Linked DNA regions of Homo sapiens: all the other regions are linked to region 3. Evidence: promoter capture Hi-C in 16 types of primary human blood cells and fetal thymus (Javierre and others, 2016). All regions are on one chromosome and are shown on one strand. Each heading gives the region's core, a stretch centred on a gene start or on the middle of the fragment in contact. The rest is flanking DNA. Distances are from core to core; before and after follow the strand shown. Region 1 has its middle 4.2 kb from the start of DIMT1. Region 2 holds the start of PDE4D-AS1 (PDE4D antisense RNA 1). Region 3 holds the start of ERCC8 (ERCC excision repair 8, CSA ubiquitin ligase complex subunit). Region 4 overlaps KIF2A (kinesin family member 2A). Region 5 overlaps PDE4D (phosphodiesterase 4D).

Region 1 (6,096 bases), core at 9-2,508, 1.5 Mb after region 3:
CCAGGGCCATAATATCCACATCTGTTTTGCCAGCCAGTGTAATGGCTCTTTTAAATTTTTCTGTGTGTATTCTGTTTGGTTGAAGAAATAGCTTCTTCCTGTCATTACTAAAGCTAACTCTCTTTTGAGCAATTCATTGTGTACATTCCCAAACCTTGGTCTTAGGCCCTTCTTTCTTTGATGTAGTTCTAAGTCAGAAAAAAAATCTCGTATACCCTAGTAGCATCTTCAAGTATATGTTTCATTTCATCAATCATTGTTATTCCACAATTCTAAAGAGTACACTGTGCTAGGCACTTCCAAATGTTAATAGGATGGACATGGCCTGGAGAGGTGGCTCATGCCTGTAATCCCAGCACTTTGAGAGGCCAAGGCGAGCGGATCACTTGAGCTGAGAAGTTTGAGATCAACCTGGGCAACAAAGTGAGACCCCGTCTCTACAAAAAATACAAAAATTAGCCAGGCGTGGTGGTGCAGGCCTGTAGTCTCAGCTACTCGGGAAGCTGAGGTGGGAGCCTCACTTGAGCCCGAGAATTTGTAGTGAGCCAAGATTGCACCAACCTGGGCGACAGCATGATACCCTGTTTAAAAAAAAAAAATTAACATGACACAAAACCCTGTGTGTGATTTGTTATTGTTGTTGTTGTTGGGTTTTTTGGTTTTGTTTTTTTGAGACGGTCTCACTCTGTCACCCAGGCTGGAGTGCAGCGGCATGATCTCAGCTCACTGCAACCTCCGCCTGCCGGGCTCAAGCGATGCTCTCACCTCAGCCTCCCGAGTAGCTGAGACGACAGACATGAATCATCTTGTCCAGCTAATTTTTGTAATTTTTGTAGAGGCGGGGTCTCACTTTGTTCCCCAGGCTGATCTCAAACTTCTCAGCTCAAGTGATCTGCCTGCTTTGGCCTCTAGGTTGCATTTCTTCTGTGAAATAAAAGGCAAGTTTTTCTGTAGAGAAGGAGCTGTGGAGGTGGTAGGACAAGGGGCATGAGTGCGGAGAAGGTTTGAAGATCCTTTATGCGCAATGGGAGAGGAAGATTAGAGGGAACTCAAGAAGACATGGCATGTCTTCCAGCTAAATGTGGAGCCCAGTATCTCCAATGTGTACTGCTGTGTAACCACAGCCTGGAGACAAGAGCAGAGAAGGCAAAATTGTTCTTTTGATTCATCAATGAATGACCACTATTGCTCCCTAGAATAGCATTGTAGGCCTTTCAAATTAAGTTCCTATTTACCTTACTTATTTACTTCCCAACGTTATCAAGTTCCTTTTTCTTCCTTAAACATCTTTATACCTCGGCTTTGTGAGTGCTCTTCCTTTTGCATTCTCGACCTTCCCCTGGCTAACTTTTGTTTGCTGTTAAAGACACAACTCATATATATAATATAAATATATATATTTAAATATAAATATAAACATATATAAATATAAATATATATATATATATATATTTTAAGATAGAGCCTTGCTCTGTCACCCAGGCTGCAGTGCAGTGCCATGATCTTGGCTCACTGCAACCTCAGCCTCCCAGATTCAAGCTATTCTCATGCCTCAGCCTCTCAAGTAGCTGGGATTGCAGGCGTGCACCACCACCACGCTGGCTAATTTTTTTTTTTTTTTTTGTATTTTTAGTAGAGATGGGTTTTCACCATGTTGCCCATGCTGGTCTTGAACTGGCCTCAAGTGGTCTGCCCGCCTTGCCCTCCCAAAGTGCAGGGATTACAGGCATGAGTTACCGTGCCTGGCTTCAAATGTTATATTTTTAAAATAGTGGCCCAGGCTGGGTTGCAGTGAGGCAGACGTTGCAGTGAGTTGAGTTTGCTCCACTGCACTCCAGCCTAGGTGACAGAATAAGACTCCGTCTCAAAGAAAGAAAGAAAAGAGGGAGGGAGGGAGCGAAGGAAGGAAAGGAAGAAGGAAGGAAGGAAAGGAAGAAGGAAGGAAGGAAGGAAGGAAGGAAGGAAGGAAGGAAGGAAGGAAGGAAGGAAGGAAGGAATCCTGAATACTATAAACAAGATTCTTCTATGAATGTATTCTTTAGAATGATCTAAATATGTGGCTGGGCATGGTGACTCACGCCTATAATCCCAGCACTTTGGGAGGCCAAGGCGGGTGGATCATTTGAGGTCAGGAGTTCGAAACCAGCCTGGTCAACATAGTGAAACCCTGTCTCTACTAAAAATACAAACATTAGCTGGGTATGGTGGTGTGCACCTGTAATCCCAGCTACTCTGGAGGCTGAGGCAGGAGGCAGAGGTTGCGGTGAGCTGAGATTGCGCCACTGCACTCCAGTCTGGGCAACAGAGTGAGACCCTGTCTCAAAAACAAAAACAAACAAACAAAAAAGAATGATCTAAATATTTTTAGATAATCATAAAGACTATGTTAGATTAATACAATTATTTAAAGAAGATGATTATGGTCTCTGTTTAATACCAGCATAGGTGTAAACCTTGTCAGTGAATATTACATAATTGATACCTCTCAAAAACATTTGTCAGATAAATGTTTCCACATCATTACCATTGTTAAAAGAGAAACTAAGGCACAGTAAAATCTTAAAATGTTTATTTGAGCAGACAGTGATTCATGAATCAGTTTGGGACTCTGTTAAAGGCGCACCAAAGAAAGGCTTTTATAGGGTGAATGTGGAAGCATGGCAAATAAAATACACTGAGTTGGGTTTTGGTTTGCTTCTGTAGGAACCCAGGGTGCTGGAGCAGCCTCAGTCTAATGGCCTCTCTATTAATTATTTTAACATCATAAAATAATGTATATCATGTTGCAAAATAAAGCTTTTAGAAGGTTTCCAAATACAATAAAAACCAAATTATTAGGGTACATAGAATTCTATTTGTGGGTTAGAGTCTATTTTTATTTTTACTATTTATTTATTTTTGAGATAGGGTCCTGCTCTGTTGCCTAGGCTGGAGTGCAGTGGCACAATCATGGCTCACTGCAACCTCCCTGTCCAGGCCTCAAGCGATCCTCCCACCTCAGCCTCCAGAGTAGCTGAGACCACAGGTTCATGCTACCATGCCCAGCTTATCTTAGTATTTTTTGTAGAGATGGCATTTTGCCTAGGTTGATCTTGAACTCTTGACCTTAAGTGATCCTCCCACCTCAGCCTACAGAAGTGCTGAGATCAGAGGTGTGAGCTACCACACCTGGCTAGAATCTATTTTTATATTGTATATTTATACTTATGTATTTTTTATTTTAAACAATATTTTATAGTATAAATAAATAAAAATATTTTATTTTATAAAGTGGTGCATGCTCCTAATCCCAGCTTCATTAAGGAGACTGAGATGGGAGGAACACTTGAGCCCAGGAGTTTGAGACCAGCCAGAGCAACATAGCCAGAGACCCTGTCTCTAAAAGCAAAAAAGAAAAAAAAAGCCCTTTTCCAAGTTATTACACACTCTGAATAATTAATATTGAAAACTGTTGGCCGGGCGCGGTGGCTCACGCCTGTAATCCCAGCACTTTGGGAGGCCGAGGCGGGGCGGATCACGAGATCAGCAGAACGGCGTGAACCCGGAAGGCGGAGCTTGCAGTGAGCTGAGATCGGGCCACTGCACTCCAGCCTGGGCGACAGAGCGAGACTCCGTCTCAAAAAAAAAAAAAAGAAAGAAAGAAAACTGCTACAGAAACTTTCACCTTGTGAATGCGTAAGGGTTTACTAAATCCTGCCTATTCCATTGTTCTTATAAAAATAGAGCCATAGACATTTTAGTTTATACCTGGAAAATATTTTCAGTACTTTGAATTGGTTCTCTAGTATAGATTTCCAGGCATGGAATTATTTACTCAAACTGCGTGAACATTTTAGTCTTTGAATATAAATTGACAAATTATTTTCTTTTTTTATTTTTTGAGACGGAGTCTTGCTCTGTTGCCCAGGCTGGAGTGCAGTGGCACAATCTCTGCTCACTGCAACCTCTGCCTCCCAGGACTGATTTACATAATCAGTCCTTATGGAAATAATAAACTTGTTTCAAGTTTATTATAAACAAAAATGAATCTAGGAATTATGTTAATTTATAAGCATCTAATGAGCTGTATTATAATGTAGAGTTATCCAAGACTCAATTTTATGCAAGTTAAAATAATAAATGAAGGGTAGCAAATTAGAGAGCCTATAACTTTTGAGCATATATTCTATTGCTGCTTCAGCAAAGTACCACAAACCTAATTAGTGGCTTAAAACAAGATACATTTATTAATTTAGAGTTCTGGAGGTTAGAAGTCTAAAATTGTTTTCATGTCTGAGTTTCTTCTGGAGGCTGTAGAAGAGAATCAGTTTCCATGACTTTTCCAGCTTCTATAGGCTTTCTGCATTCCTTGGCTCATGGCCCTGGCATCCCTCTGACATCTATTATACTGGCATATTTTCTTTGTCTTGGACACTCCAGCGTCCCTCTTATAAAGACCCCTCTGATTACATTGGACCTAGAGGATAATCCAGCATAATCTTCCCATAGTAAGATTATCCTGGATAATTTAATCACATTGGCAAAATCCCTTTTGCTCTGTAAAGTAACATATTCACAGGTTTTGGGGATTAGGACATGGACATCTTTTATTCTACCTACCAGGAAACATAGATCTAAATTTGTTTAGAAATGGAGAACCTCGAGCCTCACCTCAGACTAAATGAATCATGAACTGTATTTTAACAAGATCCCTATGTGATTCTATGAACACTTAAAATTTGAGAAGTACTATCTTTGTTTTTTATTTTTTTTTGAGACAGAGTTTTGCTCTGTTGCCCCCAGGCTGGAGTGCAATGGTGCAGTCTCGGCTCACTGCAACCTCTGCCTCCCGGGTTCAAACCATTCTCCTGCCTCAGCCTTCCGAGCAGCTAGGATTACAGGCATGTGCCACCACGCCCAGCTAATTTTTGTATTTTGGGTAGAGACGGAGTTTCTCCATGTTGATCAGGCTGGCCTCGAACTCCCGACCTCAGGTGATCCGCCTGCCTCAGCCTCCCAAAGTGCTGGGATTACAGGTGTGAGCCACCTCTCCAAGCCTGAGAAGTACTATCTTTCAATAAAATCAGAAGATACAGTTAAGCAAAAAGAAAATAAAGCATGGTCACAATACCCATCCAACTAGTGATAAACCCTCCTAGCATTTTGGCATTTATTTATTTCCAAAAGTGGGACATTCTGAACATAATGTTTTGCAACCCTCTTTTTTCACAATGCATTGTGCATGTGTAAACATGTCAACAAATACACTTCAAGATAATTTTATTTTGTTTAATTAATTAATTAATATATATTTTTTTGAGACAGAGTCTCCCTCTGCCGCCCAGGCTGGAGTGCAGTGGCACGATCTCGGCTCACTGCAACCTCTGCCTCCTGGGTTCCAGCAATTCTCCTGCCTCAGCCTCCCGAGTAGCTGGGATTACAGGTGCCTGCCACAAAGCCCAGCTAAATTTCTGTATTTTTAGTAGAGATAGGGTTTCACCATGTTGGCCAGGCTGGTCTCGCTCTCCTGACCTCCAGCAATCCACATGCCCCGGCCTCCCAAAGTGCTGGAATTACAGGCATGAGACACTGCGCCCGGCCTATTTATTTTTTCTTGAGATGGAGTCTCGCTCTGTCGCTTAGGCTGGAGTGCAGTGGTGCGAACTCGGCTCACTGCAACCTCCGCCTCCCGGCCTCAAGCGATTCTTCTGTCTCAGTCTCCTGAGTAGCTGGGATTACAAGCGCATGCCACCACGCCAGGCTAATTTTTGTAGTTTCAGTAGAGACAGGGTTTCACCATGTTGGCCAAGCTGGTCTTGAACTCCTGACCTCAGGTGACCTGTCCGTCTTGGTCTCCCAAAGTGCTGTGATTACAGGTGTGAGCCACTGTGCCCGACCTCAACATAATTTTAAATGGTCAATTTGTATTTTATTATGTATGGATGTATTGTGATTTAATCATTTGTGTCATTGGTGGTTGTTTAGGTAATTTTATCTTTTTACTTTAAAAAACAGCCCTTGTGTGATCGACATTCTTGGAATGCAGAGCTTGGTTCAAATCCTAACATGGCCTTTTACTAGCTGTTTGACGTTAGGTGGGCTACTTGACTTCTCTGT
Region 2 (6,296 bases), core at 1,238-3,737, 1.9 Mb before region 3:
ATGCTTGCACATTGCTAAGTGGCTTTTGATTCTGCTCTTCATTTTCTTACACAGAATCAACCACACAATAGAATTAAGAACTCAGGCCCATGGCAAAGTGCTCCCATTTAGCAGTTAGGACACTGGACATATTCAGCATATGTCTACTGCTATTGAGAATCAAATTATGAAAACAAACTATATTTTATAAAACTAAGAATTTGTTACTCAGATGAGAATAAAGGTGCCTAATGCTACAGCAGGGGGTAAAAGTCCCAGTAAGAGAGCAATAATTGGTCATTCTGATGAGGAGCTGTGCCAAATTTAGAAATGAGGCACAAATGACAAAAAAATTGATCATCAGTGTGGACATGGGTAGGTCAGTGTGCATATGGGTAGGTTAGTATCTGCTGGCCGTGTCTACAGAGCCCCTTTTATTTATTTGAAGCCAACTTTTCACTTGACAATGCTACCTACAAAAGCACTGTTAATAGATAAGACAATCAAGTGGCTGTTATGCCGTGGCCTTTTTGTAAAAACTGCATGAGAACAGGTGGGATAAAAACCATAGAAAGGTAGAAAAAAAAAAGCATCACTCATTTAAAGATATGTGCACATAGATGAACTGTAAGATAATATAACCTTCTTGACCTTGTAAATAGGTGGCCAAAAATACTTAAATATCTTGACGAGGCAACTATTACTAATTGTCTCACAACATTACCAGTCCTTACTGGCTGAATCCTTCAGCCATCTGCATACGACATGCACAGGCAAATAGCCACTAAAAACATACACAATTCCAATTATCTCCTTGCATAACTAAAGACAAAAAGAACAGGAAATCCAAAAAATACAGCAAAACTGAAAACACTATACCTTGCCTTCCGTGCTATTTTAAGGCTGTCCCAGGCTGAAGGTTACTTCTCAGCCCTCAAAACTCCATTAACTGCCAAGACCAGCACCTTAGCACATATGGCACAGATGCCTAGTTGAAGCCTCCTTGTACTAAATGACCTCAAAAAACTGGGCTTTCTTTCCAAGATTAATGGAAACAAAAGTAATGATCATAAGGAACCTTCTAACTCTGTTAATGTTTCCTGCGGATATGTATGGCCAACTGAATATATAAAGGCTCAGTTCTTGCGGGGTACCCTGACAACTAGATGAATTAGGGTGAAGGTTCCAAGTTCGATGAACTCTTCTGAGTTTGAGTGCCCTAGGTGGTGACATTCAAGTGATTTCACAGACATCCACCAATTCTTATTTTCAACCGGGAATCCCAAGAACACCTTTAAACATGCAATGCCCATGGACCCTACTGGGTTTCTGCTGCAAGGGCTCAGTGTTACTTAGGAACCCTGTGTCTTGGGAGATACTTAAATTTAGCACGTCAAATTGCTTTTGGAAAATGTTTATCTGGCGTGACTAGGGGAGGCAAAGCAAGGAAACAGGAACCTCCCTCTAAGGAGCAGAATAGCCAACATGCAGTAAGCCTAAAAAACCTCTCAATTTATTTCCCGGGGCTATGGGTACCAGTGGCTCGCCGGCATGGGAATCAGCAGCCTGGGGGCACCAGTGACAGCAGAACCGGGGCTTACCTTGTTGGAGGCCATCTCACTGACGGAGTGCCTGGTCTGTAGGGTCTCTAGCTGGTCCAGACACCAGTCCAGCTCCTCCAGGGTCTCGCTGGCCAGTTTCTGGTAGGCCTCCTCTGCGAAGAGACAGGGAAAGGGGGACTCAGTTCTCAAGCGCTTCACGGGTCCGCTAGCGAGTTCAAAGGGGGCCATCCTGCCATACCCCGCCATGCTCGGATGCCCGGTGCCGGCACATGAGGGCTGCTCCTTCATATTGCCCAGCCCGGCAGTGCAACGGGGGCGGAGGCTGTGCTCGCGGGGCGGCCGGCCTCGGGGAGGCACGGTCTCTCCAGCTTGGCGTCTCGGGTCGGCCTCCAGGGAGGGCGTGCAAAGAGCGGCGAGCCAACTTTCACACAGCGACGCGAGCGGAAAAACCACTATGCGACTTTTCAACTGTGCGGCGGGCCCGAGTCCCAGTCCAGGAGCCCGGCTCTAGCGGATGGCGAGGGGGTGGCGAGCGCGCTTGGGTGCCCGCCCCGCAGAGGAGCGTCTGGTCCACAGCCGGATCTCCTCGGTCCCCAACCCGGAGCCGCGGCCCCACGCCCGCCCCGCCTGCCGAGCCTTCTGCACGGCACTTGAAGTGAATGAATCAGCCGCGGCCGGGTGCGCGGCCACCACGTTTCCTGTTTTCTTTCTCAACTCCTCGGGCGGCAGGCGCAGCGCGGCTCCAACGCCGCAGCTTTCCGGGAACACTCCCCCTCACGCCCCTCTCGGCCCTCGGCGCTGCCTGGCTCCTCCTCAACCCCCTTACGAAAAGATTCCGAATTGCAAAAGCCTGTCCCTGTCCGTGCCACCCGCCGCGTCCTTCCCCTCGAGCTCTGCCCCGGGGGCCCCGCCACCTCGCAGTGCCATCCCCCCGGCGCAGCCGGGCGCCACTCGCTTTGAAGTGCAGACGAGGAGGCGCGGGCGCGAGCGTGTGTGTCTGTGGGGCTGCTGTGGGACTGTCTGTGCTAGGAGAGCGGCGGAAAACCCGGCGTGGAGCGCCTGCAGTCCGCCGTCCGGGGTCGCGCCCGCCGCGGGGCTCAGGAGGGACCGGCACGCAGGCGCGCACGGCCGCGCACCTGTCTCGCTAGAACCCCGCGCGCCCCGCCGAGCCACTGCCCTCCAGGTTGCCCAGACCGCTGGAGCCTCTGCGACTCCACGACCGGCTGCTTCCTGCGAAGTTTCACAAACAAGGTTATTTAGGACCCTCAAGGTTTCTGAGGGTTTAAGTTTTAGGGTTTCTGGGGGTTCGTTTCTAAAGGCTTAGGATTCACCTACTTCAAGGAGGCAGGGTTGTGGGAATTAAGACCGCATTCTTTTTCTACCCAGCCCAGTCCCTACTAAGTACCAGACTTCTAAATGTTGGGGCGGACAGAAACAAGCAAACAAAATATACAATGTTGTGGGGTCGGAACGCTTTATAATTCACAAATTTGACAATAGGCTGCATTTTCATATGCCGAATTGCCTAAGAGTTCTCTTAAAGGAACAGCAATGTGAAAGAACCACATGGTAAGGAGAATTTACGCATGTCCTGCATACTACTCCTTTCCCCTGTGAATTGCATAAGACCTAGATGATCTTGGGCCAAGGAAGAAAATCTGGAAGGGTGTTTCTACCCACCATGTGCAGAGTACACTACAATTTTGAGAAAACGGAAAGACCATATTCAAAGGCATACAGAAAAGCCTGTTCTGTTTACAAAGGCTGACCCAGGGCACCAGGGACACTGTCCCTAAGCAGATCAGTTGTGGGAGAACTTTTCTACATTAGCATGCAATAAGCAAACCATTCATAGTGAGGAGAAGTCAAACTCCCAAGGGTCCATTTGATAAAACTTTGTCATTGTCGAGTGGAAAGAAGATACTGAGAAACTTACACTAAGTGGTGGGATCCCTTGTCTTTGTCTTTGAATCTACAGGTATTGGAGAAGAAATTCTGCCCTTGAAATTTAGACTCCATAAATTAACATGGCACAACAAATAAAGTTCATGGACTGAATTTAGGCTCCTGGGATTTTTGAGATAGCTTTTTATGTGAACTTTGTAAAAGTTAGAGTAACTTTTAAAGTAGTTGTTACATGTGCCACGTGGCTTATTGTTATCAAGAATACTTGAACTATTTACTGTTCACTTTGAGTACTCTAGGTTAAAATTTGCCTCTTTTTTGTTCTACTTCCTCCACCCCGCAGTCTATGTAAATATATACTTTAGATGGACAAACAACTGCCTAAACCTTGCCAGGTGAATTAAAGTTTCAGATTGAAGCTTTTTTTTCCCCCTTAACAAGCTTAAAGATATTAATAATTTTAAATGGTAAATATAAAATACCTGCTCTGTATAGCTTCCCCAATTCTAAGAATGTAAAAAATATTACATGCTTGTTATAAAAATTGAAGCATTACACACAAATATAGGAAGTCCATTGTAACCCCACACCCTAAAGATCACAAACAATACTTTCGCCTATGGCTCTAACACAATCATTTTCATTTTACTGAATAACTTCCATATGCAAGTATAGCATCACCTAGTTGCCATGGTAGTGCATCTACTATATGGTTTGGTTTTGATATTTTCCTCTCTCTCTCATTCCCATAATATAGGAATGTAGGAAATTTTAAGAGGACATTGACTTGTTTTATGATCATTTGAGCTGTCCATAGTTAGCCTATCCAGTGGATTAAAGATGCATAACCATTGTGTCTGGGATTTGTTCAGTGCCATCTTTTCAATCATTGGTTACAATGAAGCTGGGAGTCCCCTCTGAGGTTCGGCTTTCTGTGGCTCCTCTCCCCTGCACTCCAACTTTCTCAAAGCCTGAGCCTCAAGTGATTTCCCAGTAGCTAAGTAAACTGCCCCCTTCCTCCATCTTCACCAAGTTCCCAAAGCTGTTCAGACTCAGGCTTCAAATCTAACAGGATGTGGCTCCACACATTATATTTCAGTTGTTATTTTTTAATGTGGAAAATAATTCAGGAAAGTTTTGGCTAATGCTTCAAGACATCATGCACTTTATACACAGGATTTGTTCTTAAGAAGGTAGTATAGTGACAGGAGGAACAATTTACTTCAGAATATCCATTTTATGTCCAAGCCATGCACCAGCCACTTTTGACAGACAGGATTTGAGTATGATGATAAAATGGGGTAAGCATATATTTTAAGTTCTAACATCTGTATAAATAAGAAAAATGAAAAATCACTGGAACACATCTACATGCTAGTGAGAAAATAATTACTAACAGAGTAAAGTTTGCTCTGTGAAACTGTTGCTCAAATAAAGAATTATTCTTGATATTAGCATAGAGCTGAGAATATTGCTTTTTTCCAAATTCCTAGGTGAGTAGGCAATATAGCTAGCCACGATTTTTCAGGATCATTTGTAAAGCTTCACTTTTAGGAATTTTAACCCCAAGTGTTCTAAGACATCAAGTAACTGACCTTTTCATCCCGCCGAACAAACCTCAAAGTGGAGTTGCCAACTATCCCACAGGAAATTGAGTCACCACACCAAGCAACACACCTAAATGTCGACAGCTAGCAGGACAAAAACAGTGAGCCAGTTTAATTTTGGCTTTTACCAAGAACACATACTGCATTCATTAATAAAATACTTCCCCTCAACCCCTGCCAGAGTAGTATACACTGTGGCTCTCCTTAAAAATACATGAAAACTCTTTAACTGCACCAAATCTTGCTAAGTCAAGGAACTAAACAGAGAAAAACACCCAAGCAAAAACTATTGGCTAAACTCCCTAAAGGCTGGGAGAGGGCTATGGAACAGCAACTGAGAAATAAATTGAGCCTTGAAGGCCCCTGCTACAACAGCATCAGTTTTCTTCAAGGCACCTTTGAACTATGTAACACCCGCATTCTGCTGAGGCTCTTCTGTGAACAAACAGTCCTCAATTCTTGCGGGCCAGCACTTGGCTTCTGTCACAGTGATATGCTTAGAGGTTCCCCTGACACATGGCCTGAAACTGTGCCAGGGGCTCCAGGAGAAGATGCTGAAGAAGCAGCTTCCTTTTGAAAAAGGAAAAAAGTAATCACCTCAGAGCCACAGCAGTTAGCTAGAGGTTGAGGTCATTTTTTGTGAAATGTTCAGTCCATTACTCTTACCCACAACTCACAGTGATGTTGACCATTGAGGTAAAAGGATCCACTGTACGGGATGTGTAACTATGTGGACATTAGTTTCTTTGCCAACACTTGAAGGTCTGCTAAAGGACTGTATCGGCTTGTCATAATTCCTAGATAGACCTATTGGTATACATGAAGAGAACAAGTCCAAAAAATACCACTTATTTTGGACACTATTTGTATGCCCTTAATTTAAAAAAAAAATACAAATTATAACAGCTGAGGTCGGGCACAGTGGCTCACGCCTGTAATCCCAGCACTTTGGGAGGCCAAGGCGGGCAGATCATGAAGTCAAGAGATCAAGACCATCCTGGCTAACACAGTGAAACCTTGGCTCTACTAAAAATACAAAATACTAGCCGTGCATGGTGGCGGGCGCCTGTAGTCCCAGCTACTCGGGAGGCTGAGGCAGGAGAATGGCGTGAACCCGGCAGGCAGAGGTTGCAGTAAGCTGAGATTGGGCCACTGCACTCCAACCTGGACAACAGCAGAAGACTCCGACTCAAAAAAACAAAAAAAATTATAACAACTGATCCAGATTTTTTTTATTATTACA
Region 3 (5,584 bases), core at 85-2,584:
GGCAACAATGACACTGCCGCCATTTGAGACATTCTAGATATGCAGACTGAGGAAATCAGTGAAGGTGAACTTATAGACATAAATGAGGAAAAGTGATTGTGATGAAAGGCTGATGATGTGTCAGAGGAAGTGACACTGGCAAAAAAAACACATTAAAGGAACTCTCAGAGATATTTCACAACATTGAAAACGTAATGGATAAAATGTTGGAAACTAATATTTAAATTTCTCCAGAACGCAGAACTCATAAGCAACTGTGTTCTCCAAGTAAATATCTTCACAGGTTCCTCAATTAATGTGGGCAAAATTAAAAGTACAACTTGCTTCTTCCCTTTGGAAAACCCTCTCTCAGAGTATATTACCAACATTCAACTTCTTATACAAGGCATAGATCTGGGAATCATTATTCATTCTTCTCTTTTTGTCATTCACGTATCCACTCAATTTCCATGGCCTGTTGATTCTATTTCTCAGACGTTGTTCAAATCTCTCCACTATCTTTATTCTACTTGGCAACTCTGTGGCCCAGGCTTCCAACAACTCTCTCCCGGACAAGTGTAATCACAACAGTTACCTAACTTGGCTCCCACTCTTGTTCTCAGTTGCAACCCATTCTCCAAGCAGAAAACAAAATGCAATAGCTGTTACCTTATTCTCATCTTCACACCTCTACTCAAGTACACAAGGCTCTTCCTCATCTAGTTTCTGTCTACTTCATCTCTTGTCAATGGTCCCTACCCCAATTCTCCGCTCTAGTCATTCTGAACTTTGTTCAATTCCTGGCCTGTGTCCTCTGCCTTTAATAGGCTGCCTGGCACACTGTAGGAATTCACTAAATATGCAGACTGAATGAATGAACGAGTCCGTGGAGGGCAGTTATTCTTTGGAGTAACTTAAGAGAGAAGGAATACAGTACAACGAAGTATTCTTATTTAGGTTTATAGTGTCTTCACCTGAGCCCGCGGGGGAACCCCCCCCCCACCCCCGGGGAACCCCCCCCACCCCCGCCGCCCCCCGCCTGCAAGTTGTTACCAGTAAATAAAAGGGATCCTATTTTAGCAAGCCACACAGCATTAGAGGGCAAATAATAGTTTGGTGGCAGGAGAGCGATGAGACGGGAAAGTGTGGGGCAAAGCTTACAGTCATTGGTCCAGATTCTAACTGGCCTGTTAGCCAAAAAGTAAGGTTTTCTTTACCTCCGTGTTGACTCTGCTCTCCGAAGGCGAAGAGGGTCCTCCAAACCCGTTTGGCGTGCGGACAAAAACCCCAGCATATCGTGTCCTCACACCGGCTGGAGCACTGGACGTCGCCATGACAGAGCTCAGGGGCGGGACTGGAACAGCAGAGTCTCCCATTGGTCAGTCGGTGATATATCCGGCCAATGGTGAGCGCCGTTACTAGAAGGGCTCCAGGATGGAGGCCGACCTGACTTCTCCGCCTCGGTGGGCTGGGTCGGCGGCTGGAGCATTACCCCTACTGCGGGTCCCGCTGCTGGCAGCGCTGGAAACTGGGTGGACGGCATGGGTTGGTCTCAGGATTTGTTCCGCGCCTTGTGGAGATCGCTGTCAAGGGAAGTGAAGGAGCACGTGGGCACGGACCAATTCGGGAACAAATACTACTACATCCCGCAGTACAAGAACTGGAGAGGTGAGGTGGCGGCGTGGGCAGCGATTGCGTGGTCAGTGATTGCGAGGTCAGTAAAGGAGGGAAAAGTGAGAGCCCCTAGTCAACTAACGCATCATGCGACACTTAGGGTGTCACCGGAGAGAATTTCCCGAGTTCGTTCTCCCCTGTCGACCCCTTCACTCTGGCATCGGAGCCCTACCCGGCCCGGCTCTGGGCGCCTTGGCCCGGCCTCGTGCGTCCGCGGTCCCTACTACCCAGCGCCTTCCCCCGGCGTGCCCCGGGCTGCTTGCGCTGTTAAGGCGCACCACCACTTTCCTCCCAGCCACGCCTGTAGAGGAGCCTCAGTTTTAGCCCTGGACTGGCGACGGAGGCAGGGAAAAGTCCACGGAAATCTTTCACCAAAGGGGCTAGAAGGGCCAGGGGAGGGGTTTTTCGTACGCTGTTCCCCGCCTTGTGACCCAGAGCTGAGTGGTGTAATTGAAGAGGAGTATCTTCAGCGCCTCGGCTGTCTTCTTTCTTGGTGTTTACCCTTTTCGGTGGCACCCTGGCTCCGGCGCTGGCCCCATGCGCCTTCCTTACTACCAAGACTTGTCAGAAGTAGGTCCATATCCCCACAAGGCTCGCTGATTCCTTTCTCGGGAGTTGACATTCCAAGACCCCGTTGAGCTCAATTTAAGAAACGTGGCAATAATCATGGTGTTACTGTGTAGGATTCGTGCCAAGTAGTTGAGCGGGTTGTTTGGGGAGTAAGGAGGCGTTGCTGTCCATTGAAATCACACTGTGTAGCCGCCGTCGTAACCTCTTCTGTGTTGTTCCATCGCCGCATGCAGAAAATGTCAGGTTTTGGGCGAAGAGGCGTGGGTTAGAATCTCAGCTTTGACACCTGATAGCTCGGGAATCACGGAAAAAGTACTTGTCCTCTCCAAGTCTCAACATCCTCACTTGAAAGTTAGAGATAATATAAGATCAGCAATGTTGAGAAGCACTAAGACCTTTCCAAGATTATGTGCCATTCATTTCCCACACATATAAAATGTATTCTGTGATTTATCACTCAATTAATTTATTTTTGCCTGGCCTTTTTCTGTAACTTATTTTAATATTTAGACTTGTTTCCCTAATGAGCTCCTCTGTCAGGCAGGGAATATGTCTCACAAAAAAAGAAAAAAGCCTGCAAAGAACATAGCATGGTGTTAAGTATTTCTTGACAGGTTGCAAGCAGAGAGATGTTTCTTTTCCATAAGTTGTCAGTAAAATTAAAAATATGCAAACTGTCAGACTGAGTTTTTTTAAATTGAAATATAATTTACATACAGTAACATTCACCCTTTATGGTGTACAGTTTTATTGTTTTTGACAAATGAGTAGAGTAACCTCACTGGATTCAAGTAATAGAATAATTCCATCACCATCAGAATTTCCTCCAACTCCTTAGTAGTTCATTCCCACACCCTTTGGCAACTACTGATGTGTTTTATGGGCCTATAGTTTTGTCTTTTCTAGAATATCATATAAATGGAATTATACAGGATTTAGACTTTTGAGTCTGGCTTGCTTCACATAGCATAATGTAGCTGAGATTCATCCATGTGTCAGTAGTTGTTCCTTTTTATTGCTCAGTAGTATTCCATTGTATGGGTTTGCCAGTTTATCTGTTCACAAGCTGAAGGACATTAGGATGTTTCCAGTTTCTGTGATTGTGACAAAAGCTCTACAAACATTCCCATACAGGATTTGTGTGAACGTAAGTTTTCATATCTCTTGGGTAAATATCTAGTAGTGGGATTACTAAGTTGTGTGATCAATGTGTGTTTAACTTTATGAGAAACTACCAAACTGTTTTTCAAAGTGGCTGTACCATTTTGTATTCCTGCCAGCAATGCATTAAAATTCTAGTTGTTTCCACACCCTCACCAGCACTTAGTATTATCTGATTTTTGGGTGTGTTTTTATTTTTATTTTAGCCATTTTGATAGGTATATAGTGGTATCTCATTGTGATTTTAAGTTTCATTTTCCTAATGCCTGAGGATGTTGACAGTCTTTTCATGTGCTTATTTACTATCTACAGATCTTCGGTGAAGTATTGTTCAAACCTTTTGCCCATTAAAAAATCCATTTATGGCTGGGTCCGGTGGCTCATGCCTGTAATCCCACCACTTTGGGAGGCCGAGGTGGGTGGATCACCTGAGATCAGGAGTTCCAGACCAGCCTGGCCAACATGGTGAAACCCCATCTCTACTAAAAATACAAAAATTAGCTGGGCATGGTGGCACGCGCCTGTAATCCCAGCTAGTCGGGAGGCTAAGGCAGGAAAATCACTTGAACCTGGGAGGCGGATGTTGCAGTGAGCCGAGATCACACCACTGCACTCCAGCCTGGGTGACAGAGTGAGACTCCACCTCAAAAAAAAAAAAAAAAAACAAGCCCAAAAAACAACAAACAAATATATTTATACCAGTTTTTGTATCATTCATTTATATAGAGATACAATACCATTAAAGTTTCAAATTAACAGTCATGTCTATTCTACAATAACATGAATATTTTATTTTTACATATTCTCACTAATTTGTATATTTTCTTACATAATTGTAATTGCATTTTGAGAGTTTTATTGAAGTATAATTGACAAAAAAAATTGCCCATGCTTAAAATGTATAATTTGGTAAGTTTTGACATATGTATATATCTGTGAAACCATCAACACAGTCAAGAAAATTAACATATTCAATATCCACAACAATTTGTTGTGCTCCTTTCTAGTCTTGCCTTATGCTTCTGCTTCCATGGATAGGCACTCATCTGATTTCTGACACTATACATTAGTTTGTATTTTTTATAATTTTTATTTAGTTATTTTTATTTGTTTATTTTGAGATGGAGTCTCGCCCTGTCGCCCAGGCTGGAGTGCAGTGGCGCTATCTCGGCTTACTGCAACCTCTGCCTCCCAGGTTCAAGTGATTCTCCTGCGTCAGCCTCCCAAGTAACTGAGATGTGTGCCACCCTGCCCAGTTAACTTTTTGTATCTTTAGTAGAGACGGGGTTTCACCATGTTGGTTAGGCTGGTCTTGAACTCCTGGCTTTGTGATCTGCCTGCCTCGGCCTCCCAAAGTGCTGGGATTACAGATGTGAGACAGTGCGCCTGGCTAGAATTTTATTTAAGTGGAAGCATACAGCACATATTCTGCTTTTTTTTTTTTTTGTTTTTTAGGTTCTTCACTCAGCATAATTATTTTGAGATTCATCCATGTTTTTGTGTTTATCAGTAGTTTATTTCTTTTTAATGCTGAGTAATATTCCATTGTATGTATATACCATAATTTGTTTATCCATTCACCTGTTCATAGATATTTGGGTTGTTTCTAGTTAGGGGTTATTACAAATAAATTATGAACATTCATGTGTAAGTCTTTGTATGGACTTATGTTTTTATTTCTCTTGATGTAATATTTAGAAATGGAATGGCTGAGTCAACTTGTTAGGTGTATGTTTAACTTCTTAAGAAACTGCCTAAGTGGTGGTACCGTTTTACCTTCCCACCAGGAGTGTATGAGATTTCCAGTTGTCCTATATCCTTATCAACACTTGGTATGGTCAGTCTTTTTAATTTTAGCTCTTCTAGTAGGTGTGTTGTGGTATCTCATTTTTTTTCTTTAGTTTTCTGTTTGCTATTAGTTGGTTTTTTTAGATTCTATTTTTAAAATACAGTAAAATTAACTTTTAAAATTGGTGTATAGTTCTATAAATTTGAACACATGTGATTCATGTAACCAACACCAAAATCAGGATACAGAACAGTTCCGTCACCCTGAATAACTCCCTCATGCTACCTTTTTGTAGTTACAATCTCTCCTCATCCCTAACCTCAGCAACCACTGATTTGTTCTCTGCCATTATACTTTTTTCCATTTGAGACTGTCCCACATGTATACTTATACCATATGTAACCTTTTGAA
Region 4 (5,899 bases), core at 2,728-5,227, 1.4 Mb after region 3:
TCCTAGAAGAAGGTTAATTGAAAGTAAGTTTCAGTAACAGTTTGTAATTTAGTTGCATTCAAAACAAATCTGAATATGATGTATAAAAAAATGTGACTTCTTAGAATGATTAATAATTTATTGTTCAAGGCTAGGAAAGACTGTTGACTATTGCTATTTGTATCTTAATCTGAATTTCTGTTTTGAAGCCAAATAAATTGTAGTTGGCATTCAAAAATTTGAATTTTAAAGTTTTTTTAAAATGATCTTGGCTTCTGATTCCTTTAAGTTCTATGTTCTGTTGATTTGGGGCAGTTTTGTCATTACTTAGTATTTTTTAGAAGGTCAGCAAAAATAGAAAATGAAGACAAATGAATCTGTATTTATACTTTGCTGAAACACTGGATTAAATTAGAAGATGAATCTGATTAAATGAATTTTCCTAGAATTTCAGCTTTTCTAGAGTTATTTGCCAGTGGTAACATGAGCATTATTTCTCTGTTGCTGCATTTTATAGGATAATTAAGGTATATGTATAACAGATGGATTTTTGAAATAGGTGAAGGGTAACTTCAATGAAGAGTCCTTAATTTGGAGTTAACAGAATGCATACCGACTAAGAGAATTGTGTTTGTAAAACACAATTTTACAAACACAAAGTGGTTCAGAGCTTATTATGAAACCACAACTGTGAAACTATATAATATCGTCAGTTTAAGTTTAGGCTTGGTTATGACAAATGGCACAATTTAATTTTAATTTTCAAACCAAATATAAATGTAACAAATACATTATTATATTTATAATGGTGAATTCTCTCTGTCTTCTAATAGGACGTTGATGCTACAAACCCAAATTATGAAATTATGTGTATGATCAGAGACTTTAGAGGAAGTTTGGATTATAGACCATTAACAACAGCAGATCCTGTAAGATTCTTTGTAAACCATTATTCTGGAACTTTTTATGCTTCAAATAAAAACGTGTTTGACACTTGCTAAATTCATATTGTGTTCAGCTATGTAGTTTTTCCTTTCCTTGTGGGTGCTCATTCCCCATATTTTAAGAAGAAAATCAAGAAATTATCCACATTAATGCTTATTTTCCATAATTTGGTATATGAGATATGCTCCCTATAGAGATGTCCTTCTCGAAGCAAAACCTCCCTGTCTTTGGGAGGGCAAAGCAACACTTAAAGGAGTGATAGCAGAAGACTCACTTTCCTTTCTGACTGTGAGTTATACTTTGATCTCAGTTCCAAGCTTATCTTTGTCTTGGGCTGTAGATCCCACCATCATTTCTAATTTACTATTGGTAATTTGTTAGTTTTAAATGTTATTCTGGCTTTTAACAATAAGTGATGGTTGTTGAGGGCTGCAGTGGACCAGAAATCTAGAACTGGAAAAAATCCTCTGCTGTTATTACTCAACTCCTTTGCTGTTGATGAATGAGAATTCATTGGACAGGGAGTGCCTTTTTTTTTTTTTTTTTGAGATGGAGTCTTGCTCCATCGCCCAGGCTAGAGTGCAATGGTGTGATCTCCGCCTCCCAGTTCAAGCGATTCTCCTGTCTCAGCTTCCCAAGTAGCTGGGACTACAGGCGCCTGCCACCACGCCCGGCTAATTTTTGTATTTTTAGTAGAAACGGGGTTCACCTTTTTGGTCAGGCTGGTCTCGAACTCCTGACCTCAGGTGATCCACCCGCCTCGGTCTCCCAAAGTGGGAGGCCTGTAATCATGCCTGGGATTATAGGCGTGAGCCACCACGCCCAGCCGGGAATGCTTTTATAACTAATTTGTACTTATAAAAATAATCCATCTGACATAGCATATACAGAATGTGTTAGTTACAAAAAAGACATTTGTGTTAGATAGATGTATTATATAGAATTGAATAGAATTGTTGATAATACTTGTATCCCACATATTTTAGGCCTTGCTATTCCTTCATGTGTTTCACTTACTGCATTAGAGCTCACCCTTTAGGACAGGAATTGGCAAACATTTTCTGCAAGGGTCTTTGGCTTTGGAGCTATATGGTCTTTGTCACAACTACTGAACTCTGTCATTGTATTGTAAAAGCAGCCATAGACAATACATAAATGATGGGTATGACATTTGTTTCAATCAATGTGTGTCAGTAAAATTTTGCAGAAGCAGGTAGTAGCTAAATTAGACCCACAGGCCATACTGTGCTAATCCTTGCTTTATGTTAATTATTATTAAAATGAGGCATGTATTGGGAACAAAATTTTTATAAAAAATACTTATGCATAAGAATTGGCATATTTATAAAATAGTTCAAATTATTTGGCTCAGTAATCGTCTGAGAATCCTGTTTCTTGCCATAGTTATCTTTGCTAGCAACTTTCCCTATGATCAACCTATGAAAATATGTCACTTAGTAGAATAGAAATGTTGACTTTTGTTGTGTATAGCACATCTTGAAGTGGATAATACAGCTTTTTTTTTTTTTTTTTGGAGACACAGTCTTCTCTGTTGCCCAGGCTGAGGTGGAGTGGCAGGATCTCGGCTCACTACAACCTCCACCTCCAGGGTTCAGGCAATTCTCGTGCCTCAGCCACCTGAGTAGCTGGAATTACAGGCATGCACCACCATGCCCAGCTAGTTTTTATATTTTTAGTAGTGATGGAGTTTTACCATGTTGGCCAGGCTGGTCTTGAACTCCTGACCTCAAGTGATCCACCCACCTTAGCCTCCCAAAGTGCTGGGATTACCCACCATGCCTGGCATCACAACTTCTTTTTTTTTTTGGTCCAGAGATAAAGTCTCACTGTCACCCAGGCTGGTGGGCAGAGGCATAATCTCGGCCCGCTGCAACCTCCACCTCCCAGGTTCAAGTGATTCTCCCACATCAGCCTCCCGAGTAGCTGGGACTACAGGCATGCACCACCACTCCCGGCTAATTTTTATATTTTTAGTAGAAATGGGGTTTCTCCATGTTGGCCAGGCTAGTCTCAAACTCCTGACCTCAGGTGATCTGCCCACCTTAGCCTCCCAAAGTGCTGGGATTATAGGAATGAGCCATCATGCCCGGCCTCCTCACAGCTTCTTAATGTGAACTTAATGCTACTAACAATAGTAGTACCCTCTACAGAATTATTTCCTAAAGTGATGGTTTTCCAAATAACAAAATAAGCAAGTTTCCATTACACTCAGAATTTTAGAAGTAATTATATCTGACAACCATTAAAATTTGTGCAAAGCTAATTTGTTTTTTAAGCTTACCTATCATTTATGCTATGTATAAATTTCTAAAACCCCTGGAGGAAATATTACATAATTTACGTTTTAGTGTTTTACATGACACTAATAATCACTGAAATAAAATACTTTTTATTTCTAGATTGATGAACATAGGATATGTGTGTGTGTAAGAAAACGACCACTCAATAAAAAAGGTATGGCACTTAATGAGCTCTAATAAAAGATTGATTTTATCTTATTTGTAATGTATTTTTATAATAGCAAATCAAATTGGTTTGGAAAAAATGTAAATCATTTCCTTTGATTTGTATGTAACCATTATGCAGATTTCTATGGCTAAACTTGTCAGTTTGTTATTGCTCTGAATCATTGCCATTCCGAGTCTTGCTTCACAGAAATCTTGATTTTGTTTTTACTTTGCTGTTGAAATATTTTGTCTTAGTGAGTTGCATTTTTATGGGATATTATCTTTATATGTACAGAACTTACTACTTGTATCTTAGTTCTTACTACTTAAAATAATTTTGTACATGAACTCAAATGCTGTGAAAATTATTGGGCATTGATTTTCATTTATTCTTTTAGAAACTCAAATGAAAGATCTTGATGTAATCACAATTCCTAGTAAAGATGTTGTGATGGTACATGAACCAAAACAAAAAGTAGATTTAACAAGGTACCTAGAAAACCAAACATTTCGTTTTGATTATGCCTTTGATGACTCAGCTCCTAATGAAATGGTTTACAGGTAGGTAAATTCATTTTAAATCAGAATTTTGTTCTTATGCCATGTGGTCATCAGCACCTTGAAATTTACATTGATTGTGGGATATTTCTTAAGAGGTGCAATATGCTGTTTTATTCTGAGTTTAAACAAAGAGAATGTAATAAATGCTGTAATGAATATTAACACTTGTTCTCTGTAATGCTCCCCAAAATCATAGTTTCCATTACTATTTGCTAATTAGCTTATTACACATATATATACATATATATACATATCACACAAACCATGTATATGGATAAGAAATTTCGGGAAAATGTTAACATTACCTCTAGGAATAGGATATGATAAGAAGACTTTTAATTTTTACCTTTTAATCTCTGTACTAATAAAGAAACTTGAAATGTTTGTTTGAGGCATGGTCTTGCTCTGTTGCCCAGGCTGGAGTGCAGTGGCACGATCACAGCTCACTGCAGCCTCGACCTTCCAGGCTCAGGTGATCCTCCCATCTCAGCCTCCTGAGTAGCTGGGACCACAGGCATGCACCACCACACCCAGCTAATTTTTGTACTTTTTGTAGAGTTGAGGTTTCGCCATGTTGCCCAGGCTAACCTCAGACTCCTGAGCTCAAGTGATCTGCCCGCCTTGGCTTCCCAAAGTGCTGGGATTACAGGCATGAGCCACTGTTATGCCTGGCCAAAATACCTGTTATCAGTTAATTATTAATTTATCTAAATCTGTATTTAGTATGTATTGTCACTTAAGGCGAAAAAGTTCCGTACTTGTATTTAAATTTGTCATCTTTAAGCTTGGAGATAGTTTTAGTACATGAGATTCTTGTATGTTTTCTGTATTCAACTTAAAAATAATTCAAATTTATCTGTGTTATACATTGGTATCTCAAATTTTTATGCCAGATTTAGATTTTCATACGTAAGTTTGCAAACATTCATTTCTAATAATTATAACACCAGTTTTAGCAGTATTGTTATTTTGGTTTATCTAGGAATATTACTGTCTTTGTAATTGCTTGAATACTATATCTGATTGCCCTTTTTCATAAAAATGCCTAGAAAGGAAAAAATTAGAGTTAATGAGACTAAGAATTGAAGGTGTTACAAAGGAAATACTTTTGAGACCAACTCTTTTTGTCTTCACCAAGTGTACTGGGTAGTCAGTTGTAAAAAAAAAAAGGATCAAATTAAAGGACATATGAATACTAGATAGAGATATTTGTGAAGAATATGTTTAAAGGGGAATCATAATTGTTAATTGTAGAATTTTTTTTTAGCTTTCTGAAGAGTCCACTTTTCCTTTTCATTCCCTCTTTCTACTCCTGCCTCATAAAATATAAGTTTGACTTTTATAATAGTTTTTAAGAAATTATTACAAATACAGGCATGTTTCTGTGTGTATGATTTAGTAAACATTGTGTTTTTACCCTATGTTTATGTTTCTTAACTTTATCAATATTTATCCTTCTCCTCTATCTCTTATACTTAACTATTATGGATTGAGGAGTTACATGTTTTTTTGTGGGTAGGGTTGGGAGGTAGGGGTTTGATCTACTTAGCAGGCTCATCCCTAGTTCTGTTTGACCAGAACTTTTTCCTGCTCCTTTTGTTCTGTACTTTCTTCAGTTTTGCCTTTTACAAAACAAAACAAAGACAGCAGTTATATAAAATGTTCTACTTGTAGATCTGTTTTCCATCTTTTTTTTTTTTTGTTTTTTTGAGGCTGAGTTTTGCTCTTGTCGCCCAGGCTGGAGTGCAGTGGCATGATCTCGGCTCACTGCAACCTCTGCCTCCCAGTTCAAGCGATTCTCCTGCCTCAGCCTCCTGAGTAGCTGGGATTACAGGCGTGTGCCACCACGTTCAGCTAATTTTGTATTTTTAGTAGAGACGGGGTTTCACCATGTTGGTCAGGCCGGTCTCGAACTCCTGACCTCAAGTGATCCACCCACCTCAGCC
Region 5 (5,821 bases), core at 2,453-4,952, 1.1 Mb before region 3:
GGTACATAACTTTTCTAAGACTCTATTTTCTCATATGTAAAAACGTGGTGATAATACAACCTCCTTTGTATGATATGGGAATTTCCTGTATGTTATTTGTGAAAACACTTTCCCTACTACTTAGCAATAAATTCCCTCATATCTCTACCAGTTGACTGTGAAGAATTTTAAGCCCAGAAGTACATTACTTTCCCCATCGTGAGGGTTGAGCCTAGCGCGAGGAAAGTGACTGAGTCCTGGTCCCACAAACCTGTGAACCTACCCTCTCTTATGTCCCAACCACTGCCATCTTTTCTGATAGTACCATTTTGTTCTCATTTTTAGGCTCTACTATGTTCTCCTGAGCCTTACAATGGCCTTTCCTCCCTCTGCATGTCTGTTCTTGGATGATCCTGTGCACTGTGATAACTCTAGTCTTGGAGGTGAATCTGAGGTCCACGTCTGAAACCTGAAAGGCATCTCCTTTTATCTACTACCGCTTTCAAGGAGATGCTCTTCAGGTGCCACTGATTCTGGCATGCCAAAAAGTTGCATCTGCAGGATGGTTGTAGCCCTGTTTATAAATTCACAGGCTCAATTTCAAGACCTTATGAGACCCTCAAATGTATCAAGTGGGGCCAGGCGTCATGGCACCTGTAATCTGAAATCCCAGCACTTTGGGAGGCCGAGGCAGACGGATCACCTGAGGTCAGGAGTTTGAGACCAGCCTGGCCAACATGGTGAAACCCTGTCTCTACTAAAAATACAGAAATTAGCCAGGCGTGGTGGCGCATGCCTGTAATCCCAGCTACTTGGGAGGCTGAGGCAGGAGAATGGCTTGAACCTGGGAGGCGGACGTTGCAGTGAGCCAAGATCGTGTCACTGTACTCCAGCCCAGGTGACAAAGTGAGACTCCATCTCAAAAAAAAAAAAGTAAATAAATAAAAAAGTAACAAGTGAGACAAGTGAGATAAAACTAAATCCAGTTTATAAGAAAGCCATTCCTACAGCCAATGCAATGTTATCTCTTATCTTCAACCTGAAGCACAAGCTGATATTATTTTGCAATCTTATTAGCAGCTCAAACAGCTGTCTCTGCCAGTAATATACACAATTGAAGGGATGCCAGAGGGCAAGCACCGAACCTGGCTGCAAAGAAGGGGAACCGTTCCCCAAATTTTGCCAAGTCAGGCTGCTGTATTTCATTTAAAGTGGGAGACATAATAATATTCCTAAATTCTGATACCAATAGGGTTGTTTATCCCTTCTATACCTGGAAGACTTGCTGTAATATTTTTTCTCATTTGTTTCTAAGTACTTAATATCCTATGCAGGGGGCTATTTTCTGGGCATTTGCTTATGGTCCAAGGACAATCTGTTTGGATGCTTACTTGCTGTTCTGGTTAAGCAAACCTAATGGTTCACAACTCCCTTACAACAATCAGGGAGTTTTGGCAAAGATTACTAACCAAGTCAAGTTTACATTGGCTCAAGCCTCTCCTACATGAATGCCACCAATAATTGTTGCTGTCTCTTTATTACACGTCTTTGAGGCACTGACTGCCTCCATAAAACTGGAGAAGGCATATGTGTATATATACTATATATAATGATTACCCACCAGTACCAGCTTTAATGTTTTCCTCTCCACCTAATTTCTTTTTGCTGTTCAATTTTCACAAGCATACACTTGTACACACACACACACACACACACACACACACACACACATATGCCTGTCATTGGTTACCTTTCCCCCGGGGAATTAAAATCCGTATGATTCAATAAGGTAGATTTATTTGCCATTAGCAGACAAACATGAAAATAATTCCTAAGCCAATAAAATTATTTTCAAGTTTTTCAGTTTTCCTTTTTTCTTATAATGGCAAGAACATTTGACTAAGAGTCTAGCAGGGGAAAATACTGTATTCACAAAAGCAATGGGAAAAAAACTCAGGCCTGTTAAGGAAACTCTCCTATAAAATCAAATTGCAAATTTTTCAAAGTTGCCAATGCTTGGCACATCACTGTCTGGGCAGGATAATCTGTTCTTACCAGTCTCAACTCAGAAATAACCTATTTATGATTGCAACCATCATCTTGGCCTCAGGGAGGCACTATAGGTCCCTTAATGTATCTAAGGCACAGCTGAAATACTTAAAAATTACCTCTGAAAGTCTGAAACATGACAGAATGGAAAAAGAACTCACAGAAGATAACATAAAACTCTATATTCTGTCCCTAAGTTAATGTAAGAGATTCATACGCCTTAGGAAGACGAGATAATTTAGCGATTGCGCTTAGAAAAATAAGTAAATAAATATGAGTTAGAGATATGGTTGGTGACACTTTTTTTCCTCTGGGTCTCTTCCTTATTTTCCCCTTGTTCCTTCCTGGCACTAGGGGGCGGCAAACGATGGGCTCCTTTATTTATAAAAAAAGACAGTTTTTATAAATAAAGCTTTATTGGGACACAACCATTCCCATTTGTTTACTTATTGTCTGTGGCTGCTTGCATGCTGCATCAGTCAAGTAGTTGCGACAGAGACTGTCTGTCCCACAAAACTTAAAATATTTATGCTTGAGCCTTTTACAGAACAATTTGGCTGACCCCTGCATGCTATCTATAGTATTTAACAATGGATATGAAAGTGACAATGGTAGATCTAAGGAACTTCGATATGTGTCCAGCCAGCCAGGATAGGGGCCAGCTTCCTAAGACACATGTCTAGAATATGATGAAATCACCACCTGCCAGTGAGTCACATGCAGGCAAATGACACCAACAGAAGAAACCTAGGAAGCATATCCAGAAACTATAAAGTATTGGTCATGAACCTTGCAGGGGAGGACATAACTGGTGTTCGCATCTCTGCTTCCAGTTGACAGTTCACCAAAGATAAAAACAACAAATAAAATCCAGACCTCTCGCCACAAAAGGGGGTTTGGCTTCAGGCAGGGGCTTAGGGCTCTCTGCTGGGGACCAGCTGCACTTCACAATGCTGCAAAGCCTGCATTTGTTCAGAAATGTAATTCCTGATCTGATTATAAGAGTTCAAAGCTGAAAATGTGGTAAGGAGGAGGAAAAAAAAATGGGTTATGATGGAAGATTTTGTGGTGGTGGTAAGGGGGCATGATAATAATAATATTGAAGAAGTGCCCTAGTAATTTACATGAGAAGGGACCAAGAAGGTGGCTAAGAACAGCACAGAGTCTCAGATATACACACGTTTTTGCACAGAGTCTGGCTAATAACACAAATGAGAGATTTTAGCATAATAATGCTGTATTATCAAGGAAATAGACATCCCATCTGTGGGGAAACTGTCAACATGAGAGATAATTGTGGTAGAGAAGAGATCTAGAAATGAAGGATAACAAAAGAAATGAAATAATAGGCGCAAGTCCCTGGCCCTCCTATGTGCCACAGTCCAGGGGAACAGGAGAGCTGATGGGAGACCTCGGTTGGGAAAATCTTATCCATTCCAAAAGGAGGAAAGGTCAATCTCTGAAACTATTTCATAGTTGATTTTAGTATTGGTCCCTGAAAACATTTCAGAACTCACTTAATCAGCAGATAGTTTTAGAACGCAAGAGGGTGAAGTTATGCTCAGGGCAGCAGGCCTGGTTGGTGAGGATGGACCACAGGTACGGTGTGGAGGGTAGGTGGGTAGGCTCCAGAGCTAGTCTGCTGGGTTCCGAGTTGGCTGTCTTACTTCCTAGCTCTGAGACCTCTGCAAGTTACTTAACTTCGCTCTTCCTCAGTGTTTTTAGTTCTCAAGTGGGCATAGTAATGAAATGGGGTGGTTGTAGGGATTGAGTTAATACATATAAAAGAGTTAGAACAAATCCAGCTGAGACTAGTGCCATGCAATTGTTAGCTAGTGTTCCTGGTACAACTATCAGACCAGGGGCCAGGAGAATGCTACAGACCTGGCTGAAACTGAATTTCAACAAAGCATTTCACAAATGCATACAAAATACAGCCAAGGACCTGCTGGAAAAGTGGTCTGAGGAACACAAATACATAGATTCATATTTGGTTTTACAACTAGAAATTCATTTCAGCCTAAGGAGACTTCTTTAATTTCAAGCCTTGTGATTATCCTCAGCCCTGTCCTGATCGACATTTTTCATCAAGAAGACCTGAAATTATTTTATTGTAAAAATTGTGAATATTGTGAAGTATTCCAAGCATACAAAAATAACTTTCGGGATTTAGAACTGACAACAATGTGGAAAAGCCATACATATCTAAAGCACGAGTGAATTCTTTCTTACTGAACCTATTCAAATAAAGACTGAAAGACCTGGCAGTGAAGGGTTGGAAGTGTCACATGAGGCATATATTGAGATGAACTTTGAAAATTCTATTCACACATGAAGATGTTTATGAAGTATTTTATATATGTTAGGCATTGTCTTAGGTACTTGGAATGTATGTAAACAAAATAAACACCTGTCTTGTTGGACTTACATTCAGGTGGACTCCTTAATAACCTGTAAGTTATAGGAATTACTAGATTTTGGTTTAATTCTGAAGTTTGTCACTCACTATATATAAACCTGATAAGCTCCCTCGTTTTTTTCTCATCTGGAAAATGGCGATAAAATGCCATCCTTTCATATTTAGGATCATTCATTCGCTCAACAAGTACTTCCTACTTTGTGCTATGCTCTTGGGAAAAAAAATGAATGAGAGAAGGATCCTGCCCTCATGGTACTTGTATCTTATATTATCCAGAAGATAAAATAAGGCACTTACCAAAAATACTAACATTTACATATCAATGAAAGGCTATGCCTATTATATCTAATGATAGCAGCATGGCCTGTGAGTCTTTGGTCGTCTTTTTGGGGATATACAATGTATATTTTGGCTGTTACCTAAGCCATTCTCCAATATTACACCCCTCACTACCGCTATGTACACAGATAGTCTGCTCCACACTCAGAAAGGTAGGGACAACACCCTAGGATTTCCATAAAGCTTAGAAGGATTTCCTTCCTAAGAAATACCCAGTTTTGCTGCCAAACACTCCTCCCCTCCTACATGAAGGCCTGAGTCAAGAGATATCGTGGGTGGGAGAAGTTACCCTGCATGTCACCAGAACCTCAGCATGCACACTTTAAAATGAATTTCCAAATGCAAATTTGTTCCTAGATCCACAGCATGGCAAGTGAGATGCAGAAGCCTGGTTCCTGGAGGAGGAGCCAGCATTGATTCGTGGAGGGCAGTGTCCTCTCACAGGGGTAAGTGAGCAGGGGTAAATCATCGTTCCCATGAACTCCTCTCCATCTGCTCTCCCCACTCTGGGAACACTAGTGTGCTGCTCCACCTCCTTCTGCCCCCTCCTGGGATGGGCTCCAGAGGATGATAGGCAGGGCACCTAAATTCCCAGCTGACGGAAACGTGAATGTGCTCAGTAGCTAAAGGTGGCTCAGGAAGTTTGGAAGATTAGATGAGATGGTTCTCCCTCTCCCTCATTTAGATCACACACATTTTCCAACATGTAGGGGAGAAGAGGGAGCTCTGTATTTTTTATTTATCCAACAAATATGTATTGAACATCTACCATGTGTGGGACAGTGTCTTAGGTATTAGGAATACAACAAAGAAGAACCTCAAATCCTTACTGGTATTTAGATTACTAATACCGGGAGGAGTGGGAAAGACACATAGTAAACACATTAATGACCTATTAAATATATGCTGGGTCACCACTATGGACTGTATTGCGTCCCTCACCCCAATTCATATGTTGAAGTGTTGATATGTTCCCATCAATTCATATATTCCTATCAGCTCATATGTTCATATGTTGAACTCTCAATGTCACTA

Evidence for each region. Contacts are between HindIII fragments. The CHiCAGO score rates a contact against its expected background, and 5 or more counts as called.
Region 1: a contact is called between a fragment that was not itself captured here and the fragment with the promoter of ERCC8 in region 3, in 5 of 17 cell types (fetal thymus, monocytes, naive CD4 T cells and 2 more). The highest score is 6.5, in fetal thymus.
Region 2: a contact is called between the fragment with the promoter of PDE4D-AS1 here and the fragment with the promoter of ERCC8 in region 3, in 3 of 17 cell types (total CD8 T cells, naive CD8 T cells and fetal thymus). The highest score is 5.8, in total CD8 T cells.
Region 4: a contact is called between a fragment that was not itself captured here and the fragment with the promoter of ERCC8 in region 3, in 1 of 17 cell types (non-activated CD4 T cells). The highest score is 5.4, in non-activated CD4 T cells.
Region 5: a contact is called between a fragment that was not itself captured here and the fragment with the promoter of ERCC8 in region 3, in 1 of 17 cell types (monocytes). The highest score is 6.5, in monocytes.

Annotation. Positions count from the first base shown.
Region 1 is chr5:62,405,087-62,411,182 of GRCh38, forward strand. No RefSeq gene overlaps it. Among named protein-coding and RNA genes, the nearest start is that of DIMT1, 4.2 kb to the left of the region's middle. The HindIII fragment of the contact is 3,071 bases long and covers 1-2,794 here.
Region 2 is chr5:59,037,279-59,043,574 of GRCh38, forward strand. PDE4D-AS1 (PDE4D antisense RNA 1) reads left to right here and starts at 2,488. Exons shown (of 2, transcript NR_198970.1): 1 at 2,488-2,792. PDE4D (phosphodiesterase 4D) reads right to left here. Exons shown (of 15, transcript NM_001104631.2): 6 at 1,581-1,693. RefSeq lists a silencer at 1,857-1,926. The HindIII fragment of the contact is 4,461 bases long and covers 1-3,863 here.
Region 3 is chr5:60,943,736-60,949,319 of GRCh38, forward strand. It overlaps ERCC8 (ERCC excision repair 8, CSA ubiquitin ligase complex subunit), which reads right to left and starts at 1,335. Exons shown (of 12, transcript NM_000082.4): 1 at 1,197-1,335. The coding sequence starts at 1,273. It overlaps NDUFAF2 (NADH:ubiquinone oxidoreductase complex assembly factor 2), which reads left to right and starts at 1,470. Exons shown (of 4, transcript NM_174889.5): 1 at 1,470-1,647. The coding sequence starts at 1,521. RefSeq lists an enhancer at 2,106-2,235. The HindIII fragment of the contact is 6,619 bases long and covers 1,134-5,584 here.
Region 4 is chr5:62,354,347-62,360,245 of GRCh38, forward strand. KIF2A (kinesin family member 2A) reads left to right here. Exons shown (of 21, transcript NM_001098511.3): 7 at 813-908; 8 at 3,345-3,399; 9 at 3,791-3,953. Among named protein-coding and RNA genes, the nearest start is that of DIMT1, 47 kb to the right of the region's middle. The HindIII fragment of the contact is 1,516 bases long and covers 3,220-4,735 here.
Region 5 is chr5:59,811,773-59,817,593 of GRCh38, forward strand. All of the region lies in intron 1 of PDE4D (phosphodiesterase 4D), which reads right to left. Among named protein-coding and RNA genes, the nearest start is that of PDE4D, 79 kb to the right of the region's middle. The HindIII fragment of the contact is 2,529 bases long and covers 2,439-4,967 here.